3 separate regions of the Homo sapiens genome follow, and all the other regions are linked to region 2. Evidence: promoter capture Hi-C in 16 types of primary human blood cells and fetal thymus (Javierre and others, 2016). All regions are on one chromosome and are shown on one strand. Each heading gives the region's core, a stretch centred on a gene start or on the middle of the fragment in contact. The rest is flanking DNA. Distances are from core to core; before and after follow the strand shown. Region 1 has its middle 10 kb from the start of LINC02038. Region 2 holds the start of CPN2 (carboxypeptidase N subunit 2). Region 3 overlaps LOC105374287 (a long non-coding RNA gene).

Region 1 (3,059 bases), core at 77-2,576, 500 kb after region 2:
TGCTAATTTTACCATAAGATACTCTGTGAGGTTGTGATTTCAGTTTGCATAATTCTTCCCAAAATTAGACCTTGGGTTTGATTTTCAGAAATATTTGCCCTATAGCCACAGGAACTAAAGATTTCCCTTAGTTAGTCTTTGTATTGGGAACTTAGTCATAATTTTTTTTTTCTCCAAGTTCTTCAGTAACCTAGAAGCTACCTATCAACATCTGTATCTTCCTTATTTTTGCTGAAATATTGTACAGAAGCAACTACTTGGTTATCCAAAGCCCTGCCTTCTATAGGCACTTAATTACAGGTATTTATAGGTGATAATGTAATTAACTCTTTTGTTACCACCAGGTCCCCTTTACTACTGGCATCAGAGTCATTAACGCTTTTAAATATAATCAGATCAGAGAGCCAACTCCAGAACCAATTCAGAGAACTCATCCTTTAGGTTTTCTTGCTCATGGTTTCATCAGGGAGGCAGAGTCACTCTTAGTGATATGAAATAATTTCCCATAGCAATTAGACTTCTCACAATAGTGGGAGAAGGATGCAGGAAGATAAGCTGGACCTGATACAGGAGAGATCAAGGGCAACCTGGAACCTTTCCCTGTCTTTCACCACAACTAACCCTATAGAAGAGGTATGTGCCCTTTACCATAGGGGTGCACACACACCTGAGCCAAAACTCAGCAGGAGCTGAGGGGAGCTGCAGAACTGGCCGCTGCTCCATGCTAAGGAGGTAAGCAAGTAGGTAAATGCTGGTGTCTGTTTGTGTTCATGAGCTGTGATGGCACCTGTAGCCCTGCACCAACCTTCAAGTGTTGTGATGGTTGGTCTGCTTTCCAAATCTCATGCCAATTTCTCTTATGGCCAACCATAACGAGGGCCATAGAAAGAAGGAAAAATCTGGGAAATGTCCTTTGGGCTTAGGTAGGCTGACTCAGTACGGAACCACCAGAGCCGTCACTGTTTGGTACTCTTACGTAAGGAACTCAAGATTTAACCTAAGAACCAGTACCTAGAGGGAGAGGGTAAGAGAGAGGGATGGATAGGATCCATGTAAAAATTGGGTTATGAATTCGCTTAAATTAAGACTGTATGTGAGATTGTACCCAAAAGATCAGGATCAAGAAAGCCAGAGGGGAGAGCCGGCTTTGCTCCAGAACATTTCTGTATTTGACAGTGATGATAGTAACCCACCATGGCATCACAGAGCTTTGTGGTTTGCAAAGTGCTCTCACATGCATCATTTCATTTGGAGTGGATTGACCTTCTGCTTCATTCACTAAATACTTATTGAGTATTTGTCCTATGCCAGGAACTGTGCTAGGCATTTTGCATATCCTGTCTCCAAATATATTAATATCTCCTTTATATTTCACTATATCTCTGTGACAGAGATATCACTGTCATTTTACAGATTTTAAAAGTATGGCTATAATGTTGGAGATACAAGACCCTAATGGGAATATAAGATAAATAGAACTTTGTCCTTGCTCTCAAGAACAGGGGTTGGTAAACTTTTTCTATAAAAGGACAAGTGACAAGTAGTTTAGGCTTTGTGGTTCCTATTACAACTACCCAACTCTGAAGCTGTAGAGAATGCAGTCATAGCCAATATAAAAATGAATGTGCATGGCTGTGTTCCAATAAAACTTTATTTACAAAAACAGGCAGTGGGATAGATTTTGCCCATGGGTAATAGTTTACCAACCCCTGAACTACAAGGGCATAGGCTAAAGGAGAGACTACTAATTAAAACAACTCATGATGAGACTATGTGGTAAAGGAGTCTATACGAAGGGCTGTGAAGGCAGAGGGTGTAGCTGGCTGGGGAATTTAGTGAGGCAGGGCAGCATTTCTAGAATCATGACCTCTGTGGTCCATATTTCCAGGTCACTGCCATCCATGAACCAGGAAATGGCTTGCAGACAAATGCAGGGTGGGATCTGGAGCTTATATCTTATCAGAACCTGTGTCTCCTTCCTGAGCTGTCTTCCTGTGAACTGGGCCTGTGGTGTGGGGGTTGAGGTTCACTGTCTGCTTTCCCCTCGTGTATCAGCCAGCCCTTATACTTCCTAAAACTCAGCGTCCCTTATCCTTATCCACAGCACAGAAGCTGTGGGCTTGGCCTGACACAGCCCTAGAATGATACTTCCTTGTATGCCAGCCTCAACTTCTTCTGACCTGCAGCTTGCAAACAACACATTCCTAGTATGTGGTTATTAGCCTACTCCTCCTAGAATGCCCTCTAGATCTGGTTCCTGCCTGAGGTATAAAATCATGCTTGTGGTTGAACTTACAGGTGGACTTTACAAGAAGGCTCAGGACAGGGAAGAACACTATAAAACAACAAAAACTGCCTCCAACTGGAAAGCAGTGTGTAGGGAGGGTTTGAGCAGTGACTAGATGACCATAGGAAGGAGAAGTTCTAATATTTAAAAAGTCCTTGGGCTTAGGAGTCTTTCTGTCCCACAGTCCTATTTAGCTTTGTGATAGCGGACAAATTTCTTGAGCTCTCTTGACTTAGTTTCATGATTTGAAAACAGAGAGTTCACATCTCTCATAGGGCTGTTGTGATAATTAAATGAGAATTCCATCCAGTTTCCAGCAGGCACTATCCTGGCACACAGTTGACTCAAGACAGTATTAGAGAAAGACTCTGACATCAGATGGGGTGGGGTGGCCAAGTTGGGCGAAATAACTGAGGTCTGTGGTTTACTTTGATATATAAATCTAACAAGAATTCCTTTCTTTAACTTACATAAAATTCTTTCATTAAATCTCAGAAACAAAGGGATGTAACCTAAGGAGATCTCTTTGTGAGCACCCTAAGATTGGACATAAATGAAGAAATATTTATTAACACAAAAGAATTTCATTTGGAGGAAAAAAAACCATTGTAGGAATTTTTTCTGCATAACAGTTTTCATGCATACAAGTCATTTGGGATTCTAACCAAGTGTTTCCATTTCAAACTGAATAAAGTTTTACTTTGTAAATGTCTATATTAACAAAGCTTTCATTGAGGTTCGGAGAGGGGGCACTTAAAAATGTTTGCCAACC
Region 2 (3,184 bases), core at 227-2,726:
CACACACCCACACACTGCACACACACACCCACTCACCACACACATACACCCACACACCCACTCACTGCACACTCACACCCACTTACCACACATTTTCTCACACACTCTCATTCTACACACACGAGACATACTCATGCATATACACACCCACTTATACCACACACACCCCTACACCCACTTACACACACCCACTCACACATACACCCACTTACACACACTGCACACCTACACACACGCACTCACCACACACACCCCTACACCCATTCACACATATACCCACTCACACCCCCCACACCCACACGCACGCACTCACCAAACACTCCCCTACACCCACTTACATACCCATTCACACATACACCCACTTACACACGCACTCACCACACACACCGCTACACCCATTCACACATATACCCATTTACACACACACACCCCACACCCACACGCATGCACTCACCAAACACTCCCCTACACCCACTTACACACGCACTCACCACACACACCTTTACACCCACTCACACATACACCCACTTACACACACATCACACATGTGCTCTCACCACACACACTCCTACACTCACATACACACGCCCACTCACATATACACCCTCTTTACATACCACACCCCCACACACGCACTCACCACACACACCCCTACACCCACTCACACATACACCCACACACGCACCCACACACGCACTCACCACACACACACCCTACCCACGCGCGCACACACCCACTCACACATACACCCACTTACACACACAACACACCCCCACACATGCACTCACCACACACCCCCTACAGCCACTCACATTTACACCCACTTACATGCACACCCCCAGATGCACGCACTCAGCACACACACACTCCGTGTGTCTTGCAGCCCTGGTTCCACACCTCCGGAGATGGGAAAATCCCTCCCTTCCAAAGCAGCATCTTTCGTCCTCGGCCAGCCCTGAGTGTGTGAGCGCTCCTCTCCATATTGGGCCCCAATTCATCTCCCTATAGCTTTTCCCCCTTCTAATTCAGGAAGGGTTTAGAAAGTTCATTCATTAAACAAGCAAACAAACACAACAAGACAAAACAACAAATCCACAGCCCTCTTGAAATGCCTCCGGGCGCTGAGAGCCCAGCAGGGGCCTGAGGCTGAAGGCAGGCTCCCAGTCCCTCTGCCTCTGCTCACAGGTATGGGTGTGAGCGTGGACCCCATCCCAGGCCTCACCAACCCAGCCGCCTGCGGGAATCTCTAGAGCTTTCTGAGTGTCCTCGGGGTCCTGAAGGTGCCAACCCTGCAACCTCGGTGGGATTTTGGCCCCGGCAGGGCTCTGTACATGGGAGGAGTTCAGGGTCATTTTGTAATCTTCAGAGGCCTTGCCAAGGCCCTCTCCCGTCCTGTGACCCTGGTGACATTCTGGGACGCTGGGGCCACGTGAGGGGAGGAACCACTGCCTGGAACTTTGATCAGCGCTGGGGCTGGATTGAGCTGACCACAGGCCACACCAGACTCCTCTCTGCTCCTGAGGAAGACAGGGCAGCCCGGCGCCACCCGCTCGGCCCTCACGGTAGGCTCCCGGGGTCGCTGAAGGGCTCCAGGGTCTGCAGGGACGTGGGGGCAGGAACGGGAACTTGCGATCTCCCCCGTTTCAGAGCATTCCGCAGCTCCAGGCAGGCTGCGGTTCTGGGGGGCCCCTGCCCCGGGAGGAGAAGTCCCTGAGGTGCTCAGCTAGGGCGCTGCTGGGAAGAGGCAGGAGGAAGGTGGGGCGGGGGTTTGTGAGATGAAGATCTGCCAGTCCTGGCCTACAAGGCTGGTAGTGAGTAGAGGATAAGCAGGGTGACCAGATGTCCAGGTTGGCCTGGTTCTGCCTAGTTTATACTTGTCATCTTGGCATAATAATAATAAATAGTATTACTAATTACTTATTAATCCTATATTAATACTAAATATTATTAATTATTTATTAATATAATTATTGTTTTTTGAGATGGGGGTCTTGTTATGTTGCTCAGGCTGGTCTTGAACTCCTGGCTTCAAGCGATCCTCCCACTCAGCCTGCTGAGTAGCTGGGATTACAAGCGCATGCCACAGCACCCAGCTCAGGCCCAAGGATGACTAGCTCCTGGTTTCCTTCCCAGAAGCGTGCTGGCTCATATAATAAAGTTTGTGGTGAAATAAACCTGCAGGGGGCCACCTTTTATTGAACATTCAGTATGTGCCAGGCGCTGTGTTAAGGGCTTTCTATTTACTATCTTATTTAGCCTATTTATCATCCAATGGAGTGCTAATTTGAACTCTGAGGGCAGAGGTGATAATTAAGTCTGGAAAACCTGAGGCTTAGAGAGTTGGAGTGATTTGCACAAGCCCACACCGCTAGTAGGTGATGGCGTCAGAATCTGATCCCAGCTGGGGGCACTGGCGGAGCTAAAGTGCTTTCCCCTGCTACTAAGCAGGATGAGAGTAAGGCCTGAGATGCGAAGTCACTGAAAGCCACAAACACATTCCTTCAATTCAGCACACAGGGCCTGACTGCCTTCTCAGTGCCTGGCCCCGAGCCAGGTGCTGGGGTGCAGAGCTGCTTGCAGAGACACCACAGCAAGACTGCAGTACCACGGGCTCAGTCGGGTGGGTGCAACTGACTAGAAAACAGAGCGGAAGAGCCCAAACATTCAACACAGTACAAGAGGGATCCGAGGACCCAAGAAAGGGCCGAGCGCGGTGGCTCACGCCTGTAATCCCAGCACTTTGGGAGGCCGAGGCAGGCGGATCACCTGAGGTCAGGAGTTCGAGACCAGCCTGGCCAACACAGTGAAACCCCATCTCTACTAAAAATACAAAAATTAGCCAGATGTGGTGGCAGGCGCCTGTAATCCCAACTACTCGGGAGGCTGAGGCAGGAGAATCGCTTGAACCCGGGAGGCAGAGGTTGCAGTGAGCAGAGATGGCGTCACTGCACTCCAGCCTGGGAAACAAGAGTGAAACTCTGTCTCAAAAAAAAAAAAAAAAAAAAAAAAAAAAAAAAAAAAAAAAGAAGAGGGTAGTCAGGAAGGCTTCATGGGGGAAGTGTGACTTGCACTGGACTGGGAGGGTGGGTATAAATTGGGAGGGTCGCATAGTGCCCAGTTCACAACGGCCTCTTAGTTCAACCTGTCAGCTGTCTTCTCTTCCAGAAGCTAACACAGAGGATAG
Region 3 (3,065 bases), core at 138-2,637, 420 kb after region 2:
TTTCTCATGTGCTTACAGAGGGCAGGAATCATATCTTGAATTTAGAAAAATCACTGGGCAATTCTTATAACACTTGTCTTCCAACTTCCTCAACAAACAAACAAAAACAAATGAACAAACAAACAAACAAACAAACAACAAACCGTATTTTCTAAAAACTCAAGCCAGTCCACTAGTTGTCCTTACTAGACCAGCATTTCCTATCTGTGTTCTGAGGAATGCTAGCTCCACAAGAGGATAAATGGCAGTCTGGGTCTACAGAGTTTCCTGATCAGATATTTTGGAAAATGTTATGTCTGATTTTTTCCTGCAGGAAAATCACACGCACATTAACATATGAAAAAGGCTGATATGTTCTGTTGAAAAATTTCATCCACTTAACGTTGCCCAAACTTAATCAGTGCAACTAAGTCTTGAGAGAATATTCTCTAATATTGGAAAGGTGTGCTCTTTCACATCATAAATTATCTGACTTATTTATTTTCCCCAAAGTTTTGAAAAAATACTATTCAGAGGGCAAAAAGAGAGTTTTGATGTTTGGCAAGTCAGTCAAAATTACAGATGCTGATATGATATTTAAGCTGATCATTTCTGATTGGTAGGGCCAACAATTGAACAGATGAGTTAAATACCTCAGAATCTATGTGTCTAGTTTCCACATCCCAATTGTGCAAACAAAATGTGATGGGAAAATGGACTTTTTCTTTTAAAGCTCTGATCAGCATATTTATGTTTTAAAGGCCTAGAAATCTGGAAATATAATGCTAGCCCATAAAATCTTACCTTCAAAAGTATTTCATATATACTCTATTTTTAAGATAATAACCCACCTCTATAAATTTTATTAATCATTTATGAACCCCCTAAAATACTTTTGGAAACATTTTCCAGCTCAAACACCTTTTTAAAACACCTTTTTAAATGACATCATGTCTCTTGGTGTATATTGTTCTATAATGGAGATCAGGAAAGCTTCCCCACCCCTCCAGAAAGTGACTGCTGAGAAGTTTGTCATCATCCTCCCTAAATGTAAGCACCTGGAAAATCTGAGTGCTATGAAACCCCAAAACATAGCTCTGAGGCAGACAGCTAGATTTAAAAACCTCTCCCTTGGAGAATCGCCTCAGGAATAGCAGAAGCATAGTCCACAATCCTGGGGAACTTCAGGGATCCCTGAAGGCTGAGCCACAGTGAGAGGCTTTGAGCTGTACTCTAGAACGTCTCCCAGGAGGAAAGACTCTCCATGAGTTTCTCTACTGAGCACGCTGTCTGCTTCCCTTCACCTCCCTGCTGCTGTCGGCTAGCTCCACATTCTGACCTACAGGCAGAGGCAAAGTGGATGCACACTTATTCATTCATCCAATCCATTCAGCTATTCATTAGTTAATTCAAAACTGAATTATTAAGTGCCACTTAGGAACCAGGCACTATACCAGAGTTGCTAGGATGCAGTGGTGGACAAAACTCAATCCCTGCCCTCATGGAGTTTACAGTCTAGGGAGCAAGGAGAATGACCAGCCAACCAAGGCACATGGTAAGAAGTGCTACAGGGAGGAATGAGTCACATTAAGAGGTTGGAGAGTGGCTGGAGAGTTACATAGGATGATCAGAAGGGTTTTCTCTGAGGAGGTGACATTTGTGCAGTAGTATGAATGAGAGGCTGAGTCAAAGAAACATTGAGGGGAAGAGCTTTCCCAGCAGAGGGAACAGTAAGTAAAAAAACCCTGAGGCTGGAGTTTTTGGTTGAATCCAATGGCTCCTAAGCACTAACTAGTTGCATTTGACTCACCAAAGAAGCTTAAAAACAAATACTATTCCTGGTATCCACAGTCTCAGAGCCCAATTCAGTAAACTAGAAGTGGGGCCTGAGAACCTAGATTTTTAAAAAGCCTTCCCAGAATATTCTGATGCTTAGCTCAGTTTAGGAAACTCTAATCTAGTCCAACGACCTCATATCACAGAGGAAGAAATTGAGGTCCAGAGAGAGGAGGACGTGATTTAGCTTCTGGTCACAGAGTTACATAATCATAGAGCCAGGCCTAGAAACCATATTCCCACATTCCCAGTCCTCCCTGCTCTCCTATCCCCTCCTCTCCCCTCTTCTCCTCCTGCAACAGAAGAGGCCACTAGAAATGTTTTTCTTCTAATAATATTTGTTGTTGTCATTATTAATATAAATAATAACTACCATTCATTGAAGATTTATCCCAGGCACAGTTCTAAGCACTCTTCGTATATTAACTTATTAAATCCTCACAATAACCTTATAAGAGTGGCATGCTTATGATTCTCACTTTGCAGTTGAGGAAGCTGGTGGAGAGGTTGAGCAACTTGCACCAGTCACACAGCTGGCAAACGATGGAGCCAGGCCACCTTCCTGCAGAGTTTATGAGGCTGGACTCCCCTTTGGGGCTGCCTCGTGCAGACCAGGGCAAGATTATTACTGCTGTTATTGATTCTCATCAACAGGAGCTTCAGTTTCTCATCCTGTGCACATTGACAGGGACACCGGCCATATCATGATGCAGACAGCTGGGAGTGCACCTCAAGGCCATGGTACAAGTTCAGGCAGTGGATTCTGTCCCTTTGGAGAGCAACTGTGGTCTGAACATTACTTATTTATCTTTTAGAAACTTCAGGTGATTGAAGTTTCCTTTTGGTGATTTTTTGAAGTCAGGCTCTGCTGAGAATGCAGAGGGAGAAGCTGGTGTGCTTGCTGCATGTTTATAGCCAAGCTTGGCACATCATCTGAGTCATAGCTGCATCCAAGTAACACATCACTAGTATGTCTTCCCTGTGGCCAGGATGACTATGTCATTGATCTCACTGTGCGAGACCCTGAGAGCAAGGTTGAAAGATAAAACAGGATGATCCCTGTCCTCTAGGAGCTCACGAATAATTATAACTCCTGGCAGAAAGTAGCAGTGTTCCATTAGAGTGCTGGAGGTTAGAGGGCCATGGTGGTGAAGAACAGCTTGTGCCTCCTGAGAACAGGAAGAATTTTGTTGGATCTGGACCTTGATTTGACAGGTAGTGACAAAGGAAGAGATCTGCAGGACGAAGGA

Evidence for each region. Contacts are between HindIII fragments. The CHiCAGO score rates a contact against its expected background, and 5 or more counts as called.
Region 1: a contact is called between a fragment that was not itself captured here and the fragment with the promoter of CPN2 in region 2, in 1 of 17 cell types (M1 macrophages). The highest score is 5.5, in M1 macrophages.
Region 3: a contact is called between a fragment that was not itself captured here and the fragment with the promoter of CPN2 in region 2, in 1 of 17 cell types (naive B cells). The highest score is 5.3, in naive B cells.

What each region holds. Positions count from the first base shown.
Region 1 is chr3:193,852,752-193,855,810 of GRCh38, reverse strand. No RefSeq gene overlaps it. Among named protein-coding and RNA genes, the nearest start is that of LINC02038, 10 kb to the right of the region's middle. The HindIII fragment of the contact is 3,377 bases long and covers 1-3,014 here.
Region 2 is chr3:194,349,620-194,352,803 of GRCh38, reverse strand. CPN2 (carboxypeptidase N subunit 2) reads left to right here and starts at 1,476. Exons shown (of 2, transcript NM_001080513.4): 1 at 1,476-1,562. RefSeq lists an enhancer at 1,151-2,000. The HindIII fragment of the contact is 6,903 bases long and covers 1-3,184 here.
Region 3 is chr3:193,932,057-193,935,121 of GRCh38, reverse strand. It overlaps LOC105374287 (a long non-coding RNA gene), which reads left to right. Exons shown (of 2, transcript XR_007096293.1): 2 at 1-3,065. Among named protein-coding and RNA genes, the nearest start is that of LINC02026, 70 kb to the left of the region's middle. The HindIII fragment of the contact is 825 bases long and covers 975-1,799 here.